Regions from separate parts of the Homo sapiens genome. Here all the other regions are linked to region 1. Evidence: promoter capture Hi-C in 16 types of primary human blood cells and fetal thymus (Javierre and others, 2016). All regions are on one chromosome and are shown on one strand. Each heading gives the region's core, a stretch centred on a gene start or on the middle of the fragment in contact. The rest is flanking DNA. Distances are from core to core; before and after follow the strand shown.

Region 1 (2,700 bases), core at 156-2,655:
TCCCAAACGGGGTCCGCCACAAGCCGGCATCTTCCTGGTACCACCCATGGTGCAGGGCCCTAGGCAGAGGGCTGGGGACTGCGGATCCGTCCCTGAAGCGGGACGCGAACCGGCAGAGTTGGGAGAAGGTAAACAAGGGCCACGCCCCCTGCCGTCGCCCCGCGGGCGCGCACCCGCCGCTCCGGCCGCCGCCGGTACATTTCCACTCTCCCAGCGCCTCTCCCCAGCTGGACTACCGCGCGGCCCCGGAGGTGGAGGCTGCCCCCGACCCCAGTCCTCACCCCTGGCGCCGAGGCTCCGCACCCTCCACACTCACCTGGAAAGGGTGTCCCCCGCCCCTCCAAAAAAACTGTCTAATTTGTGCAGAGCCTCCAACCCCAGGAGCCGAGCATGCTGCCCCCGCGTGCAGCGCCCGCGTGCACCGGGCCGGGAGAGGGGGCGACAGGGCGGAGGCGGTGGCCCCCGGAAGGTGTCTGGGACCGGACCGGCTGCACGTGAGCCCAGCGCGAGGTCATGTGCACCGGCTCAGCCCGGTTCGGCGCCCGGACGTGCTGCGTATCAACAAAATGAAACTCGGGGAGACAGGAGGGCAGATAGCTCCAGGTTCTCGGAGCCCCCGCCCGGGCCGCTCGACCTCCCCACCGTACCCATCTCCCGCCGCAGCCCCTACGCCCGGCCGGAGCCCGCGGGGAAGTTGCAGCCCTGGCGCGCCCCCGCCCGCCCGCGCCCCCTCGCCGGCCCGGGGGCGCTTTGCCGCAGTCATTAATAAAGAAGGTCGCCAAGCTCACCCTTCCAAAAGTTGTTGTTGCATGCGCCCCTCTCAGCCTCCCCGCACTGTACTCTTTAAAACACGACTGACCAACATGCGCAATCTCTCTCCCCTGTGCTGTGCATCCCCCCCCTCTCCGCGCTGGCTTCCTAGAACAGGCAGCCAGCAGGAGAGAGAGGGAGCGAGCGAGCAAGAGAGAGCGAGGGAGCGAAGAGCGCTGGCAGATCTGTTGCAAAAACGCCAAATAACGTCGTGGAGATGCGCAGGGCCCATCCGCCGGGGGCTGGATCTTACCTTGCTCCGCGGTGCCCCCCTGACGGGCGCTGCCCTCGGCTACGCGCCGCTGCAGGGACCGGCGCGGGAAGGATGCTCCCGAAGCCGGGAGCTCCTGGGGCCGGCGCGGGAGGGCGGGGGGCGCGCATCCATCCGGGGTCGCGGCGAGGGAGGCGGCCGGGCCCGCGGCGTCCCAGGCCCCACGCCCCCCGCCGGGGACGGTCGGCCCGCAGGACCTAAGCCGGTGCCGCTAGGAGTGGGCGCAAAGTAACTCCATGGACGCTACTCACCCCCCCCAAAAAATAGCCTCCAACTGCGATGGCCGCGGTCGGCACCATTCACCAACCCCCTGTGTATGTTTCTGTTTCTTTTTAAACCAAGACTTCCTTGTGATCTCTTTAGAAAAAAAAAATGTGTTGGGGTGGGGGTGGGGTGGGGGCGGGCAGGAGGAGCGAGGGAGGGGGAGTAGCCACTTTTTTCTTATTCACTCGGATCTCCGCTCCCGACACCCCCGTCGCCGCCCCCCCAACCCCCCGCCCAGTTGTTTGGCTCCGGCGGGGAGTCCAGGTAGCGTTGCGGGCCCCGTGGGGGAAGGGTGCCCTCCCTCGCAGCCCCACCACCACGCCTGCTGGCACCCTGGGCCCGGACTCCCCATGGACTCTGGGGCGCCCCTAGCCCGCCCTGTCCCCAGGGCCGGGCCCGAGCGGCGGCTGCGCCCGTGCAAGTCCCATCAGGTCTGCTCACACTTCACACACTCACACACATACCCCGCCCCTCCACTCTTTCACTCACACTTTCTGCTCACACCCCGCCCCCTACGCGCCCCAGACCCGGGCGGCGCCCCCCGCAACCTTAAAAAAAAAAAAAAGCGAGCTTATACTTAAAAAAATCTTTTGGCGCCATATTAATGACGTACTTAAAATTTGCCATTTCTCCCTGCGTCAAAAAGACGTTTCTTTGCAAATAACAGCCTGGAGGCGACACTCGCGGAGGGAACGAGGTTTGCACTGAGCACCCCGCCCCCCGGGGCTCCAGCGCTGGAAGACCCTCGCCCTAGGCCCTGCTTCTGAATCGCTGGTTTTAAAATGCGAATCGAATAAATTGCGTGGCGTTTTGCAGCACCAGAAGTGAGCAGAAAGTGCTGGCAGGAGGGGAGTGGAGGGGCGAACGCGAGTCTTGGGGAGGGGGCGCGGCCCTCCTCCCCGCACCCACTCCAAATGGAAAACTAACATTCCGGGCGGGGGAACTTGAAATTGTAGGCGACCTCAAGAAAAGAGGGGCGGTCCGTAGAGAGGGTCCCCATTGGGCTCGTCGCCCCCTCCCCCCTCCCGGGTGCCTCCTGGCGCCTAGCGCTGCCCCGCATTTCCGGGGGGTGGAGAAGGCAGTGATGAGCGGGTGGGTGGGTGGTTGCACATCCTGGCCCCAGCAGGATTTTGCCCCGGGGCGACCCCTTCCTCCTTGCTCTTCCTTCCCATTACCCCGAAAGGGTTAAAAACCGAGGGGTAACTTCCAAAGGCTGGCACATGGCGAGGAAGCGGGGCGCCCCTCTCCCCACCCTTCGCCTCCTCGCCCCTCCTCCTCCGGCTCCACTTCCCGACTTGACCTTGTGGTGCACAAACAGTACGCTCGGATCCTCGCAGTTTCTGGAAGAAGAGCCT
Region 2 (2,860 bases), core at 190-2,689, 370 kb after region 1:
AATGAGAGGAAGAAGGTATTTGGCAGATTTGGGTGATTGAAGGATGTTTGTCGGTTTCCTCTGTAAACAACATGCTGCTTTCTGCAGTGTGCTGCTTTTAATGATGAAGTCCTTTCAAGGACTCCATGGCAGTCCTTTGGCTTCTCACCTTTTCATTGATTATGTCACTTGTGATCTAAAAGTAAACCAAAACCTTCCTGAATGTTAGCTTATTATTTTCTCCTTAACATTGTCATAGGCTAAAGATGTGCCCCCTCAAATTCTAATAATTTTTTTTTTTTTTTTTTTTTTTTTGAGACAGAGTCTCACTCTGTCGCCCAGACTGGAATGCAGTGGTGCGATCTCAGCTCACTGCAACCTCCGCCTCCTGGGTTCAAGTGATTCTCCTGCCTCAGCCTCCCGAGTAGCTGGGATTACAGGCACATGCCACCATGCCTGGCTAATTTTTTTGTGTTTTTATTAGAGATGGAGTTTTACCATATTGGCCAGGCTGGTCTTGAACTCCTGACCTTGTGATCCGCCCGCCTTAGCCTCCGAAAGTGCTGAGGTTACACGTGTGACCCACCGCACACGGCCCTAATAATTCTTAAGTTGTAGAAGCAAGTTACTCTTTTGAAGTGCCATGTGTTAGCTTGCCTTAATCTATTCTTGGTATACAAAATAGATACTGCTTTACAGTTCTTATATTTTCTCAGAGATTCACAAAATCATCCTGTAGCTCCCTGTGTGGGATTATAGCTGTGACTTTTTACTCTACAACTGTCAGAATACACCAGCTCCTGGAATTAAGCAAGAACTATATTGTGACTTGGTTGGACAGGTAACTGCAGCCTTGTAACATGACATCATAGTAATGCTGAGCTTATCTTAAAACTAGCTGGGGAGGGAGGATAGTAACAGTGAGTCACTGTGGGCATCTCACTTAGGGCAGGCAGATATTCCAAATCACATTGATTTTTCAGTTTACGTAAAAATTGACCAATCCTATGGGCTGTGTTCTGATCCCAACATAAATTTTGTTTAAGTTAATTTGCCTAGGCTCTCAATAAGGCAGTTTGGGAATATAAGGTGATTTTCCACCAGAAAAGAGAAAATTGAGAGAGCAGCAGACCTCTTGCTCTCAGCACCCTTTACAAGCTTAACTTTTGCTTGCCACCATTAGCTTTTGAAGATTTTTTTTAACTGCTCCTTGCAGAGCAGGACTACCCCATAGGCAGTGTGCCCAGAGTAGCCCGAAGAGCTTTTTGATTCTTCTTTTAAGAGACAAGGTCTCACCTCTGCCCCCCAGGCTGGAGTGCAGTGATGTGATCACAGCTCATTGCAGCCTCGAACTCTTGGGCTCCAACAGTCCTCCTGCCTCAGCCTCCTGAATAGCTAGGACTACATGTGTGTGCTACCATGCCTTGCTAGTTTTTGTTTTTTTAAATTGATTTTTATAGAGATGAGGTCTCCTCATGTTGCCCAGGCTGTTTTCGAATTCCTGGGCTCAAGATCCTCCTGCCTCAACCTCCCAAAGTGCTGGTATTACAGATGTGAGCCACAGCACCCACCAATTTTTCCTTTTCTAAAGCTCAGTGTACATTCTGGTAGGAAGGAATCAACCAAGTAAATGTTCTCCCTACAAAGTTGTTTGAGGATTTGAAAAGTTAATCTTCAATTATCTGGATTTGAAACCAGTCTATAACTTTTTAAGCTAGGAAGAAGTCAAGAATAAGAAGATTGCAAGCAAAGGGAAAGCTTACAAAATGGCTGAATCCTTAAAGTGTAGCTCCTGGCTTCTCCTTGGTAGGAAGCATTAGACATGGTTTCCCTCTAGGGAGCTGGGAGCTTTTGGTGTAGTTCAGGAGAGAAGGCATAAATACTGCTGGGAGGGAGTGGATAACTCTAATAAAAATGTTCCTGGGCTGGGCACGGTGGCTCACGCCTGTAATCCCAACATTTTCAGAGGCTGAGGTGTGCAGATCACGAGGTCAAGAGATCGAGACCATCCTGGCCAACATGGTGAAACCTCATCTCTACTAAAAATACAAAAATTAGCTGGGCGTGGTGGCACATGCCTGTAGTCCCAGCAACTCGGGAGGCTGAGGCAGGAGAACCGCTTGAACCCGGGAGGCGGAAGTTGCAGTGAGCCGACATCACGCCACTGACTGCAGTCCAGCCTGGCGACAGAGCGAGACTCCGTTTCAAAAAAAAAAAGTTTCTGGACAGAACAGATTAATGAGCCAATGGGGGGCTACAGAGCTGAAAGGTGCTACGAAAGGTTTTGTAAAGTGAAACTAATTTGGTTTCAAGAATCAAGTTGGATTTGTTTGGGGGTGGACAGATGCCAAAGTGAGGAAAAAGCAGTGCACAGTCAGGAACTAACAGCAGAAGGTTGGGTGTTGGTACATTTCCCTGAGAATATAGACTAAAGAGAAATTAGGGCAGGATTAGTCACAGTACTTTGCTGACACTCAGTAGTATTTTATCAGCATTTATTCATCAGACCCACATTAGGCAGGGCAATTTTTGAGTGAGCTAAATTCTAATTTTTTTAATTTTAATTTTTATTTATTTATTTTTTGGCTGTTCAACTAAACCAGTCTTTTGAATGTTGGGGGTTTTACAGTTAGAGTCCTGATGACTTTTTCTTGTTTACTGTTGTTAAAAATCACTACCTCCAGTGGTCACAGAGAATGAGTAAGAGAACTGGCTGTGCATATCAAGATGAAGTATGGTGTAAGAAATATTTCAGAGCATGTCCTTTGGCCCAAGATTGAGCCATTTGGACACCTAAGCAGGATTGGCTGAATGTTATCCTTTCTGCTGAGGCATCAGTGGAGATGATCATTAGTGGTGGCCGAAAAGTGTTGTCGAAGGT
Region 3 (2,748 bases), core at 209-2,708, 320 kb before region 1:
CGAAACCCTCTCTCTAAAAATCCAAAAAATTAGTCAGGCATGGTGGCGGGTGCCTGTAACTCCAGCTACTCCAGAGGCTGAGGCAGGAGAATCGCTTGAACCCAAAGGCGGAGGTTGCAGTGAGCCGAGTTCGTGCCACTGTACTCCAGCCTAGGAAACAGACTCCATCTCAGGAAAAAAAAAAAAAAAATAGGATGAATACTACATTTCCAGACAGCGTGGACTGAATAGAAGCCAAGAGTTATAGAACAGGTTGTGTAGACTATCAAAGGTTAAAGATCATCTTTTTAAATAGTTACTGAAGCCGGGTGCAGTGGCTCACGCCTGTAATCCCAGCACTTTGGGAGGTTGAGAAGGGTGGATCACGAGGTCAGCAGTTCGAGACCAGCCTGGTCAACATGGTTAAACACCATCTTTACTAAAAATACAAAAATTAGCTGGGTGTGGTGGCGCATGCCTATAATCCCAGCTACTTGGGAGGCTGAGGCAGGAGAATTGCTTGAACCCGGGAGGCAGAGGTTGCAGTGAGCCGCGATCGCGCCACTGTACTCCAGCCTGGGGGACAGAGTGAGACTCCGTTTCAAAAAAAACAAAACAAACAAAAACAACCAATAAATAGTTCCCTGAATGTACAGGAGTCAACTAAGAGCTTCTATATATTTGGACTGTGACTAAATTCGAATACTTAAAGCATAAGCTAAAACTTACCATCCTTGAAGTTGTTTTATTGTGTTTAACTCCTAAAGTTTAACCCCTAAAATGAGCCGTTCTTTATAGAACAATTCCTTTCTCTTCTCTTGAATGTGGCAGTCATTACTGCCAACATAAAGAAATGTAACTATTTTTAGTAACTTCACAAAGCATCCCTGAAGCTTTCTAAACATGGAGAAAGCTTCCTTTCAAGAAACCCAAGTTCTGTTCTCCAAAGATCAAAGATCACGTAATTCTCAGAGATTTATTTCAGGTCATTTGACTAACTATTATGTATAATCATATACGTTTCATAATTCTAAATGAAGATTTGCAACTCACCTCAATCACTCTGAAAGTCCATTCAGCAGAGGCCAATAGCCACGCACCCTGCCCCACCACGGAAAGTTTTGATAATAGGACGGCACATAAATAACGGCCTCCTTTGTCTTCTTCCTGCTCCTTAACTGTGCCCCACGGTGCACAAATAAGGACTCTCCTTATTTTGACACGAGGCGTTTAGAATGTATTACCTGTTGTGTGCTGAAAGCGACTATTAGCGTATTGGCAATAACAAGTTTGCAGAAGATGCACGCCACCCTAGAGAAAGGGTTGTGTACCCTCTAAAAAGCAAAATTCATAAGCCGCTATCCGTCCACTCGGAGTTCCGCAAGCGTAGAAGTCCACGGGCACTCCATCGCGACGCCGATCTCGAGCCGGCAGGCTTTTATTTAAAGGCGAAGGGCGGACTGCGGATTCTGACCTCTCAAAGAAAAGAAAGGGGGCTCCCTCCCCCCGCCGCAGGAGGAATGTCCCCCCGTAATGGCTCCACACCGGGGAAGAGCAGGCTACGTCCGGGGCCCCTCCTCTCACTCCGGCTACACTAGGGCCCCTTGGCAGGAGGCCTCTTCTCCCCGGTCAGCGAGGCGCCCGTTCTCGCCGCCGCCCTACCCCGCTCCCGGCCGGCTGACCAGCCCGCGCACCCCTACCTACCTCAGCCGCTCGTAGCCCGGCCCCTCGGCGCGTCTAGGGGCTTCCCAGCGGCTGGGAACCTCGTGCTGGCGCCGCTCCCTCCCCAGCCCGCCGCCTCTGCACGGTGCGGAGAACGGGCCAAGACGGAGTGGCAGGCAGCGAGGGCGGCGGCGAGGCAGGCGCTGGCTCCCAGCACCCGCCGCGGCCGCCGCGCACGGTCCTGCCCCGGACGCAGTACGAAGAGGCCGCTACCACCCTGTAGTGTTAGAGGCGGCGTGCGCGAGCTCGCGAGGGCCGCGCACGCACACGCTCACTCGCATCGCGAGACCCGATCTCCCGCCGCCAACCTGCACGCAAGCTTTGGGAGGGAGCCAGGCTGGCAGGCTGCGCTTGCGCGTCGTGGCCTTAAGCCTGAGCTGCTGGTGATCCGGCGTGGACCGTCCCCAGTGGCTGGGGTTGAGGAACCCACCAAATGGGGAATTAATAACTTCCTTACTTGTATTGGTTTTCACCACAATTCTGAGATGCTGGAACTCCTGCTGACCCCATTTCTTAGATACAGGACAAATAAATGATAGTCAGGGGAGTTGGGACTCTTCATGCCCAGGATCATGTGATAATGAAAAGCTTTATTTTATGGGACATCCTATGATCCACGCAGATTACAGGCGTAAGCCACCACGCCCCAGGAATTGTCGCATTCATTATTCCATAATCACAGGAAAGGATGGAACAACAAACTACCGCTATTATGTTTTTCTTGTGAGATATCTGACATATCAGTCACCTCACACAAACCCACTTAGAAGGGATTCATTTCCTCACTCCTTCCTCCTGTGAATTTCCAGATGTCAGAATGGAGAGGATCCAGAATTAGGGCAGCTACTGAAAGGGAGACACTTTATTAAGCAGTGGGAAGAGGCTAGAGGAGGATGCTTGCCCTTTTCCCCCATGTAATGAAGGATATTTGAGGATGGACAATTCATAGAACTGAGTTCTACCATAAGCACAGCCCTGAGCCAGGTACTGCCCTGCCAGTAGGAAAGAAAGGAGGAGAAACAACTTTTCTGGACAAACACACAAGCC
Region 4 (2,700 bases), core at 137-2,636, 330 kb after region 1:
TCACTGCTGTTTCCTAAGTACATACTTAAGAAAATTGGGATACATGGTGGTGGTTCATGGATGTTGATAAGGAATTAAAATGTACCGTGCGACTCTCTGTTTCAGTGGTGACTTTTACCTGTTTAGTATAAATATTCCTTTGCTTCCAACCATAAATGTGTTCTTAGAAATGGGCCTATAGTTTAGTAACCTATAGTTTGGTAATAGGCTTGTTTGTTTTCAGATGGATTTTGGTTCTGTGAGCTAAAGCTATTTTGCATTAAAGCCTTCGTCCTCACACATTGTTTTGACATATTTCTAGTCTTCATAAACTTTTTTAATTTAGATTTTTTTCCCTTCACAAGTATACATCTGTTTTAGCAAATAGCCTTATGAAGGTTGTAGATGTATTATTTTGGGCATGCCTGGTGATTTCTATATTTTTTCCAATTACATTTAAAGCTTTATGTTTTAGGAATATAAGTACATTTTATTTCTACTTTTTATTATATATATTTAATTGCACAAGTACTACTGTCTAGAAAAAAATGGGATGTTGCTAACACAGCATTGTTGGCTTGTAGGCAGTGCTGTCCTGTAAATAGATTGAAATGTATTTTTATCAGCTGGTATATAAATTTGAGGAAAGAAAAATGTGGACTGTGTTTGAATTGTTTAAAAGTTGAACATACAAAGATCAGTGGTAACCAAGTAAGTGATATAGGCAACAGACCCCAGTTTGTTTTGTATTTGCTGTCATGCCTGGACCAGAATTCCTCATTCCCAAGAGTGAAAGAGGAAATAATTATAGCTAATGAGTGAATGCTGGAAAAAGTCACACTTTTTTGTTTTTTAAGGAAAAGCACAAACCCTCATGTCTGAGGTTGAATTTAATTAAGTGCAGTCGGCCCTCCATAGTCAAGGGTTCCACATCTGAGAATTCAGCCAACCATGGACTGAAAATATTTTTGGGAAAAGGAACCAATAAAAACCAATACAGTGGCCAGGAGCAGTGGCTCATGCCCATAATCCCGGCACTTTAGGAGGCGGAGGCAGGGGTGGGGGGATCACCGGAGGTCAGGAGTTCAAGACCAGCCTGGCCAACATGGTGAAACCCCGTCTCTACTAAAACTATAAGAATTAGCTGGGCATGGTGGCGTGTGCCTGTAATCCCAGCTACTCAGGAGGCTGAGGCAGGAGAATCACTTGAATCTGGGAGGTGGAGGTTGCAGTGAGCCAAGATAGAGCCACTGCACTTCAGCCTGGGCAACAGAGCAAGACTCTGTCTAAAAAAAAAAAACACAGTATAACTATATACATAGCAATTTCATTGTTTAGGTATTATGAGTAATCCATAATTTAAAGTATAGCCAGCCATCAGTATCCACAGAGTTTGCATCAAATGAGTCAATGGAGTCAACCAACCTGGGATTGAAAATGCAGTGTTCTTTTTTTTTTCCCCCTGAGACGGAGTCTCTCTCTGTCACCCGGGTTGGGGTGCAGTGGCACGATCTTGGCTCACTGCAACCTGTGCCTCCCGAGTTCAAGCAAGTCTCCTGCCTCAGCTTCCCAAGTAGCTGGGATTACAGGCGTGGCTCACTACGCCCAGTTAATTTTGTATTTTTAGTAGAGACGGTTTCACCATGTTGGCCAGGGTGGTATGAAACTCCCAACCTCAGGCGATCCACCTGCCTCAGCCTCCCAAAGTGCTGGGATTACAGGCATGAGCCACCGCGCCTGGCCAAAAAATGCAGTATTCTTGAATGCAGAACCCACTGGTAAAGGGGACTGACTTCCAGACTTGACTATCCAAGGGAGGTGTCCTGGATCCAGTCTCCCAAGATTACTGAGGGATGACTAGTTTGTATCCTCAACAGGCTTGTGAGAAGTAGCCAGGATTTTGTCTACTCTGCGTACGATGCTGCTAATGCTGCAAACCACTGCTCTTATTTTACTACTTGGGTCCCTTCGGAATCTATTTTGAGATAGCCTCAGCCATGGTGTACAATCTTCTCAACCATTCAGTGTTGTTAGTGGGAAGGACTTTAATGTGTTCTTCCTGCTGGGCACAGTGGCTCCCGCCTGTAATCCTATCACTTTGGGAGTCCGAGGTGGGTGGATCACTTGAGCCTGGAGTTGAAGATGAGCCTGGCCAACATGGTGAAATCCTGTCTCCACTAAAAAAACAACTAGCTGGGTGTGATGGCACTTACCTGTAGTACCAGCTAGTTGGGAGGGTGAGACTAAATCGCTTGAAACCGGGAAGCAGAGGTTGCAGTGAGCTGAGATCGCGCCATTGCACTCCAGACTGCGAGACTCTTGTCTCGAAAAAATATATTTTTAAAAGCTTTCTTCCAAGAAATAATTTAGCTGTTCTTCCTTAGTGCAGTGGTAGGCTGTAGCCACCAGCAAGCAAGATTACTGATGGTGGAAGTCAAAGGCCAGAATCGTGATAGGAAGTTAAGAGTGCTTGCTCCATAGAACACTATGGAAGACCACAATGGAATGTCTAATTAAAGCTATTAGAAATGCCCAAAGCTGTTGAGTGCCTCTACCTCAAGGCTTAGCATACCTTCTGATCTGCAAGGAGACTAATCATTAGGCTTTTTGCAGTTCTAGAACTGCTCTGAGTATGGCATTGGAACCTGGGGATAGGAGCAAGAGCTAGTAATTGGGTTTGGCAGGCCTGGTCAAAGGGGAGCTTTAAGGTCAGGTATATCC
Region 5 (2,700 bases), core at 95-2,594, 480 kb after region 1:
AAAATTAGCCAGGCGTGGTGGTGTGCCTCTGTAATCCCAGCTACTCGGGAGGCTGAGGCAGGAGAATCACTTGAACCTGGGAAGCAGAGGAGGCAGAGGTTGCAGTGAGCCAGGATCGCACCATTGCACTTCAGCCTGGGCAACAAGAGTGAAACCCCATCTCAAAAAAAAAAAAGAAAAATCTTGGGATGGGGATACCATCCTGGATTATTCAGGCAGACCCAATGTCACCCCAAGGGCCCTTCAAAGAGGGAGGCAGAAGAGTCCATATTAGAAGAGATGAGACAATGGAAACAGAGGCCAGAGACAGATTTGGAGATGCTGCTGGCTTTGAAGATGAGGATGATGTCCTAAGCCAAGGAACGTAGGTAGCTCCTGGAAGCTAGAAAAGGCAAGGAAATGATTCTTCCCTAAAGCCTCCAGAATGAAGGCAGCTCTGCAGGCACCTTGGTTTTAGGACTTCTGACCTCCTGAACTGTAATAGAAGACATTTTGCTGTTTTAAGCCACTAAGTTTGTGGCACTTTTTCCAGCAGCAGTAGGAAGCTGATACACTGGACTTCAGCTGTCCTCTCTGTAGATAACTGGCGTGGCTGGCCAGATGGGCCACACACACTATGCTTTCTTGACTGAAGCTGATGAGTCCAGGCCAGCAGGGCCTAAAATTTTTCTGATTTTGTGGACTTTCTTTGGGAATCTAGTTCTCTGGCTGTTCTTCCTCCCCCATGGAAGGAGCTTTGTCCACTGTGGCTTTGGAGGGTTTTGACCCGTGATGTGATTGGGAAGCACAAGGAATGGAACTTCACAGGGCCGACCTTGTTGGGAGTTTCTGGGCCCCTGCTCTGGGCATTGTCTTGGAACCAGCTACCCAAAAGGCCAAAACTGCCCTCTGGCTCCCGGGCCTAATTACAGCCCCTGCCTAGGCCTCCCTTCCCCAGGATGGCCAGAGTTGAGGGGGTTTCACATGGTGATGAGCTCCTTGAAGACTCTGAGCTCTAGGCAGCCAGTCTCTTCTGTGCCCCTAGCTCTGGCGCAGTACCTCACATGGGGTAGGAGCTCAAGAAATATTTGCTGAATGAATAAATAATTCAGTAGCACACATACACAGACAACACACAGCTTGGGACATCACACGGTCTTTTCTATACCTAGATGCATACCCAGATAAGCACTTACATACCTGTGCGCGCGCGCACACACACACACAGATAGCAATATGCACACACACACACAGTTATGTGCACACACACGTGCACCAATGGGTATGTGCACACAGACACATACAGATATGCAAATGTGCCATGGAGCCCTATTCTGAAGGAAGAGAGGACACTTCTGTCCACTGAGGGAACTGAAATGCCAGCTAGCTTAGCAGGGCCTTGGAAGTTTTTATTAATCCATAAAAATCCCTTAGCTGTCTGGGGAGCCTCCCAGCAGCTGAGGAGGTTCCCCGACAGGAAGGATGGGGCGGATCTCCCATTGATGGGGAGGGGACCCAGGTGTTGGCTGCTGTTGGAGGGGCCGTTGTGCAGACACCTGCATATGATGGGAGCTGGAGCTAGGGCGGAAAGAGCTGGGAGCACAGATGTCTGAGTTGGCCCCCAGCAAGGGAAGATGGGCCTCTGAAGTTCAGGCTGCCAATCATAACCTACCTTGGATCTTGGAGGAGGCCCAGCTTTTGGACAGCTATACGGAAATGAGGGGGTGTAAACTCAACATTCCATTGGTGAAGGGATGGGGATGGGAGGCAGGGTACTGAGCAAAAACATCGCCTGCTCTGGAGTTGGAAAGGCTTGGTTTGAGTCGCAGTCTGTGCTCATCAGCTGGGTTACCTTGGGCTGGTTGATCAACGTCTCTTTGCGTCAGCTTCAGCATCTCTGAAATGGGCGACTGAGGGCACCTACCTGTCAGGGCTGGAGTGAGGATTAGGTGAGAGAATGGAAGTCAAGTGCTCCATTTATCACCAAAGAACTAAAAAAATGGGAGCTTAAGAAAAATGCAGGCACTGGATAAAAGTCTACCTAGGCTGGGCGCGGTGGCTCACACCTGTAGTCCCAGCACTTTGAGAGGCCAAGATGGGTGGATCGCTTGAGCCCAGGAGTTCAAGATGAGCTTGGGCAACATAATGAGACCCCATCTCTACAAAACATACAAAAATTAGCTGGCCATGGTGGTGCACAACTGTAAGTACCAGCTACTCAGGAGGCTGAGGTGGGAGGATAACTTGAGCCTGGAGGTTGAGGCTGCAGTGAGCCGTGATTGCACCACTACACTCCAGCCTGGGCAACAGAGTGAACCTTGTCTGGGAAAAAAAAAGAAAAAAGAAAAAAGAAAAGTCTACCCAGCCCATCCTAGGGCAGAATAACCAGAGAGGAGGAGGTGAGAGTCCTTTCCAGCCACCTCTTAGGTAGTCCCGCAGTCTAGAATTTCGCTCTGGTTGGGCTAATTCCTGGGAGGGGTGTGGCCCAGCGCTGCCCTTGTCCTAGCCCTGCCTCTGTGTGACCTGGAGTACGTTGCTTTGCTTCTCTGAACCTCAGCAGCTCCTTTTCTATATATCCTGGATAGTTGTGAAGCTCACATGAGACTGGGCATTTGAAACTATTCGGAGAGGTGAGAAATCCTCACTCAGAGGAGAGCATCTCTGGTCACCCTTGGACAGTCAAAATTGATTATATCACTTTGCCAGGCCGACAGGCCCACC
Region 6 (2,797 bases), core at 180-2,679, 440 kb after region 1:
AGAAGCAGAGGCTTGGCTTAGCTCCACCCTCACCATCCACGCACCCTTCCCATCTGGGGATTTGGGGCTTGCACATATGAAACTGTTAGAGAACAATGCGTCCATTCTGTAATCAAGGCTAATTGGTGTGGTTCAGAAGAGGAGAAACGCCAGGCGTTTGGGGGCAGAACATCAGTGGGTCTCTGAACCAACCACCCAGGAATATTCCACGAAGAATTAGAGTAGCTCCTGGGGCCTGGGAAGGGCAAACCTTGGGTAGGTGAGAGGACATTCAGGCAGCATGGATAGTGCTCGGAGGTGGGACCTAGCTTGGCCTGAATGTGGGGACTGATGGAAGGAGGAACTGGGGCAGAAATTTGGGTCCTCCCCAGACTGGACGAGGCCTGAGAATGAACAATTTGGCGCCCACCTCATTAATTCCTACTGAGCCACATTTTCTTTCTTTCTTTTTTTTTGAGACAGAGTTTCTCTCTGTCACCCAGGCTGGAGTGCAATGGCATGATCTCAGCTCACTGCAACCTCTGCCTGCCAGGTTCAAGCCATTCTCCTGCCTCAGCCTCCCAAGTAGCTTAGATTACAGGCATGCGCCACCATGCCTGGCTAATTTTTTTGTATTTTTAGTAGAGACGGGGTTTCACCATGTTGGCCAGGCTGGTCTCGAACTCCTGACCTCAAGTGATCCACCCGCCTTGGCCTCCCAAAATGCTGGGATTACAGGCATGAGCCACTGCACCCAGCCATGAGCCACCGCACCCGGCCATGAGCCACCACACCCGGCCATGAGCCACATTTTCAAAGGTACCTGGGAGAGGTGAACTGGCTACTCTGCATGCAGAAGGGAGCAGGGAAAGGCATGATGGGGGGTTGCCTGGCTCCCCCCACCTCTCCTCAGTGCCTCTACCTTTTAATCAGGGCAGCCCTGCCTTAATGTTTCTTCCAATATCCTAAACAGCCAGGCTGGGATGGCGAGCTGTAATTTCTATCATTTTTCATATGGGTTATAGGCTCCTTCAAATGGGAACCACATTGGATAAGGGGCAAACCATAAGGGCAGGATGTTGAGAAATATGGTCCTAAGAAGCCACCTGCTTCTCATTTGGGATGTGCCTGGTTTATTGCTTGGTCCCAGTGCCCAGCTGGTTTCGGAGCTGGCAGAGCAGCCATAGATTACTGTCCTCATCAGTCATCTGCGCTGAGGCTGGGGCGAGCAGCTCAGAGCCTGGGGTGTGCCCCTATGCAAAGCTTTGCAGAGACGGTTGGGAGCACTCTGCTCTTTGTCCTTGCCTGTCCCTGCAGGTGGCCATCTGGAGAAAAGCAAGTCCAGGCAAAGCCCTAGAGCCTGTGGCAGGCTGGGCACCCCTGGCTGGTGCAGGCAAGGCAGGACTCTGGGCTCCCACAGTCTTAGCTTCTTGCAAACTGAGAATTAGGGCATCAAAGTAGGCAAAGGGGCCAGCTGCCATGATGATGAAGGAACCATGGCTGCATGCAACAGCGTGGATGAACCTTCAGCATAATATGTGGTGCAAAAGCTGAATGGATGTGTGTGATTGAGTCCATTCGTATGAAGTTCACAACCGGACAGTCTATTCCATGGTGTTAGGGGAGAGGTAAGCTTGGGGGAAAACTTGGAATGTTGCAAGCAATTACCCTAAGTTGGAATAGTGGTAATAGTGGTAACCTTCAGTGAGGAGCAAGGGGGAAAGATGTAGGTGGGACATTTCCAGGGGACAGGCCATGCTCTATTTCTTGATCCTGGAGGTGGCTACATAAGTGTTCACTTTGTCATAATTCATTAAGTTATACATTTATGCTTTATGTGCTTTTCCTGAGTGTTTTTCTTTTCACAATAAAAAGGGTTAAGAAAACAAAAACAGGCATTGAATGATTGAGCCTGGCACCTTCCCCAGTTTGCCTCCTTCTCTGTCTCATTTTTGGCCACTGGTACCCCTGGAATGCTCTCCCTTGCCTCCTCCATGCCTGTGGTCAGCCCCCTTCCAGCTGTCTCTCCCAGCCTGGCTCAGGCCTAGGCCTGCCCTAAGACTGATGGAGTCACAGGCTAGTGGGGCTTCCTGACCCCCAGAGAGCTTGGAAGCTCAGTAGGCCTTGGGGGCCCCCTTTTCAGTAGCACCTGGCCCACCCTGTGCCTAGTCCAGCACTGGGACCTGTGATGGGTTTTGTTGGGGGCTCTGGGGACAGGTTCCCTTGCTCAGAGATTTTCTGCTTTTTCCCTCATCAAGTAGTTGTCAGAGCTGCTTGTTTTTTTTGTTTTGTTTTGTTTTGTTTTGTTTTTTGAGACAGGGTTTTGCTCTTGTCACCCAGGCTGGAGTGCAGTGGCGTGATCTCAGCTCACTGCAACCTCTGCCTCCTGGGTTCAAGCGATTCTCCTGCCTCAGCCTCCTGAGTAGCTGGGATTACAGGCACGCGCTACAACGCCCGGCTAATTTTTTTTTGTATTTTTAGTAGAGATGGGGTTTCACCATGTTGGTCAGGCTGGTCTCAAAACTCCTGACCTCAGGTGACCTGCCCGCCTTGGCCTCCTAAAGTGCTGGGATTACAGGCGTGAACCAACGTGCCCTGCTTGTTTTGTTTTTTAGGGTCTCACTCACTCTATCTCCCAGACTGGAGTGCAGTGGCGCGATCTCAGCTCACTGCAACCTCCGCCTCCCGGGTTCAAGTCATTCTCCTGCCTCAGCCTCCTGAGTAGCTGGGATTACAGGCACGTGCCACCACACCCAGCTTATTTTTGTATTTTTAGTAGAGACGGGGGTTTCACCATGTTGGTCAGGCTGGTCTTGAA
Region 7 (2,700 bases), core at 124-2,623, 380 kb before region 1:
GTCTTCGAGCTATTTTAAATTTCTTCTATTACAGCACTTTGGGAGGCCGAGGAGGGTGGATGACGAGGTCAGGAGATCGAGACCATCCTGGCTAACACGGTGAAACCCCGCCTCTACTAAAAATACAAAAAAATTAGCCGGGCGTGGCGACGGGCGCCTGTTGTCCCAGCTACTCGGGAGGCTGAGGCAGGAAAATGGCGTGAACCCGGGAGGCGGAGCTTGCAATACGCCGAGATCGCGCCACTGCACTCCAGCCTGGGTGACGGCGTGATTCTCCTTCTCAAAAAAAAAAAAAAAAAAAAAAAAAAATTCTTCTATTAAAGAATTTCAGGCCAGGCGCAGTGGCTCGCGCCTGTAATCCCAGCACTTTGGGAGGCCGAGGCAGGTAGATCACCTGAGGTCAGGAGTTCGAGACTAGCCTGGCCAACATGGCGAAAACCCCTCTCTACTAAAAATATAAAAAATTACCTGGGCGAAATGGCACGCGCCTGTAATCGCAGCTACTCGGGAGGGTGAGGCAGGAGAATAGCGTGAACCCAGGAGATGGAGGTTGCAGTGAGCCGAGATCGCGCCACTCCACTCCGGGCTCGGCGATACAGCGAGACTCCGTGTCGAAAAAACAAAACAAAACAAAACATTTCAAACTGAAATGGGCGGTTAAAATGCAACTTAAAATGAGATGGTGAGTTTAACGCACCACTTTTCCACTAGGTGGTGCTGCATGTTAAAACTTTCCCTCCATTTACTCCAAAATATTAATTTCTACAGCAGGAAAACTGACGGCCCCTTGGAAAAGGAAAGAAAAGTCAATATGTCACCAAAAAAGACAATTTATTAATAACTCCTCCAAAACCTCTGTGGGTTCCCCTTGGAGTGAAGCGCGAGCAGGGAGCCGCCATAGGGAGCCAGGCCCGCAGCGCCGTTCGTCCTCAGCACAACGAGCGGCAGCGGGCACCGAATTGTTCTGCAACTACTTTTCACATCTGCCTTTTGTAGTTGCTGAACAAAATTCGTTCCCATTTGTTTCCGGTTGGCAAGTTCGTAGGCTTCGGCGGAAGTGTAAAGTCAAGGGCAAGTGGCGGAGGCTGCGGCCACCCCGGTCTCTGAGCGGCGCACCGGACAGGTGGTCAGTCCCGGGACGCGGTGACCCGACGCCCGAGCTCCAAGGCTCGGCCCACGCCGGGTTCGCCCCAGTCCCGCTGGTCCCTCAGCCGACGCCGCCGGGCCTCGCACCGCCCCCCGACCCCGGACCCCCACCCACGCGGCCGCTGTGCACTCACCATGGCCGCTAGCCCTAGGCTCTGGCCTCGCAGCGCCGCCAACAAGCGCCGCGTCGCCCCGAGCGCCCCGAGCACCGCCGCCATTGGCCGTCTGCCGAGGGCTGCCCCGCGCGCTGCCTGCCGGCCGCCCACAGCCGCCCCCGACCCGACCACGCCCAGCTACCGCCAGCCCTGGTAGTCTCCCTGCGGGGCTGGCCCGGAGCGGGGTCTGTGTGTGGGAAGCGCCCAGCCTTCCCGCGGGCACAGGCGCAGCCCGGACCCCGAACACCCCCAGGAGCTTCAGCGGTCGCCAGCGCCCTTGGCCGCCAGGTGGACTCTGCGCGCCCCACAGCCGTAGGCCCAGCAGGCGCGCGCGGTCCCCGCCCCGTGCGGGCCCGTCGCGTCTGTGCCCGGGACGCAGGTCGCCCGGCGCGCGCTGGCCTTGCCCTCCGGTCCTCGCTGCGCTAGGAGGAACTTCGCCCAGCCTCGGGCGCCGGCCTCCTCCGCTTCGCGGGCGCTAGCACCGAGCTGGGCTCCCCGCTTGGCGGCGCTGCGCGCAGTCCATGCGGGCAGGAGGATGTCGTAGGCCAGGGCGGGGCAGTTGAGCGGCGGGGCTGGGGCAGTGAACCACGGCAGTTCCCATCGGGGGCTCCTAAGTCTTGCAGTAGTGGGTTCGAACGCAGCCTCTGTTCAGTCATCACGCAGCTGCCAAGTTCTTGAGCCAGCTGGCTCGTCTGGGTTTGCCTGGACCAAAAAGTGTGGAAACCCGGCCTGTAATCCCCTCCCAAACGTGTCCGTGCCCTGTTTACCCCCAGGCTCAGCACACAGTAGGAGCTCTGCAGACAGCTGTGAACAGATTTAGGTGAATCTTTTCTTGTATCATTTTTGGGGAGGTATTCTTTCATTCTTTTTTTTTTTTTTTTTTTGACTTTTTTGAGATGTAATTGACATACTATTAAGAATACTCACTTGTATCTTTTTTTTTTTTTTTTTTTTTTGAGACGGAGTCTCGCTCTGTCGCCCAGGCTGGAGTGCAGTGGCGCGATCTCGGCTCACTGCAAGCTCCGCCTCCCGGGTTCACGCCATTCTCCTGCCTTAGTCTCCCGAGTAGCTGGGACTACAGTCACCCGCCACCACGCCCGGCTAATTTTGTTTTTGTATGTTTAGTAGAGACGGGGTTTCACAGTGTTAGCCAGGATGGCCTCAATCTCCTGACCTCGTGATCCGCCCGCCTCGGCCTCCTAAAGTGCTGGGATTACAGGCGTGAGCCACCGCGCCCGGCCTCTTTTTTGTTTGTTTTTAACTGAATAGTTTAAGCAGGCCAGGCATGGTGGCCCGCACCTGTAATCACAGCACTTTGGGAGGACAAGGCAGGAGGATCACTTGAGGCCAGATGTTCGAGATCTGCCTGGGCAACATGGCAAAACCCCATCTCTATTAA

The links. Contacts are between HindIII fragments. The CHiCAGO score rates a contact against its expected background, and 5 or more counts as called.
Region 2: a contact is called between a fragment that was not itself captured here and the fragment with the promoter of JADE2 in region 1, in 3 of 17 cell types (activated CD4 T cells, total CD4 T cells and non-activated CD4 T cells). The highest score is 8.4, in activated CD4 T cells.
Region 3: a fragment that was not itself captured here is called in contact with the fragment with the promoter of JADE2 in region 1 in 3 of 17 cell types (naive CD4 T cells, non-activated CD4 T cells and fetal thymus); the score reaches 5.7 in naive CD4 T cells.
Region 4: a fragment that was not itself captured here is called in contact with the fragment with the promoter of JADE2 in region 1 in 4 of 17 cell types (naive CD4 T cells, neutrophils, naive CD8 T cells and 1 more); the score reaches 7.1 in naive CD4 T cells.
Region 5: a contact is called between a fragment that was not itself captured here and the fragment with the promoter of JADE2 in region 1, in 2 of 17 cell types (fetal thymus and neutrophils). The highest score is 6.1, in fetal thymus.
Region 6: a contact is called between a fragment that was not itself captured here and the fragment with the promoter of JADE2 in region 1, in 1 of 17 cell types (activated CD4 T cells). The highest score is 5.5, in activated CD4 T cells.
Region 7: the fragment with the promoter of PCBD2 here is called in contact with the fragment with the promoter of JADE2 in region 1 in 1 of 17 cell types (neutrophils); the score reaches 6.3 in neutrophils.

What each region holds. Positions count from the first base shown.
Region 1 is chr5:134,524,375-134,527,074 of GRCh38, reverse strand. It overlaps JADE2 (jade family PHD finger 2), which reads right to left and starts at 1,405. Exons shown (of 12, transcript NM_001388185.1): 1 at 1,064-1,405. LOC124901070 (a long non-coding RNA gene) reads left to right here and starts at 1,473. Exons shown (of 3, transcript XR_007058942.1): 1 at 1,473-1,609; 2 at 1,992-2,169. RefSeq lists silencers at 1-935, 946-1,205, 1,236-1,315, 1,446-1,665, 1,686-1,735 and 1 more. The HindIII fragment of the contact is 6,085 bases long and covers 1-2,700 here.
Region 2 is chr5:134,151,882-134,154,741 of GRCh38, reverse strand. It overlaps SKP1 (S-phase kinase associated protein 1), which reads left to right. Exons shown (of 6, transcript NM_170679.3): 6 at 1-2,860. Among named protein-coding and RNA genes, the nearest start is that of SKP1, 24 kb to the left of the region's middle. The HindIII fragment of the contact is 600 bases long and covers 1,140-1,739 here.
Region 3 is chr5:134,845,148-134,847,895 of GRCh38, reverse strand. C5orf24 (chromosome 5 open reading frame 24) reads right to left here and starts at 1,928. Exons shown (of 2, transcript NM_001135586.1): 1 at 1,684-1,928. RefSeq lists silencers at 1,503-1,552, 1,583-1,962 and an enhancer at 1,482-2,217. The HindIII fragment of the contact is 1,128 bases long and covers 895-2,022 here.
Region 4 is chr5:134,191,911-134,194,610 of GRCh38, reverse strand. It overlaps PPP2CA (protein phosphatase 2 catalytic subunit alpha), which reads left to right. Exons shown (of 7, transcript NM_002715.4): 7 at 1-279. Among named protein-coding and RNA genes, the nearest start is that of SKP1, 16 kb to the right of the region's middle. The HindIII fragment of the contact is 1,885 bases long and covers 444-2,328 here.
Region 5 is chr5:134,043,156-134,045,855 of GRCh38, reverse strand. It overlaps a transcript of VDAC1 not described here. Among named protein-coding and RNA genes, the nearest start is that of VDAC1, 40 kb to the right of the region's middle. The HindIII fragment of the contact is 4,466 bases long and covers 1-2,700 here.
Region 6 is chr5:134,087,650-134,090,446 of GRCh38, reverse strand. It overlaps a transcript of VDAC1 not described here. Among named protein-coding and RNA genes, the nearest start is that of TCF7, 26 kb to the left of the region's middle. RefSeq lists an enhancer at 2,749-2,797. The HindIII fragment of the contact is 370 bases long and covers 1,245-1,614 here.
Region 7 is chr5:134,903,804-134,906,503 of GRCh38, reverse strand. PCBD2 (pterin-4 alpha-carbinolamine dehydratase 2) reads right to left here and starts at 1,373. Exons shown (of 4, transcript NM_032151.5): 1 at 1,281-1,373. The coding sequence starts at 1,364. RefSeq lists enhancers at 290-875, 876-1,460 and a silencer at 1,058-1,817. The HindIII fragment of the contact is 31,150 bases long and covers 1-2,700 here.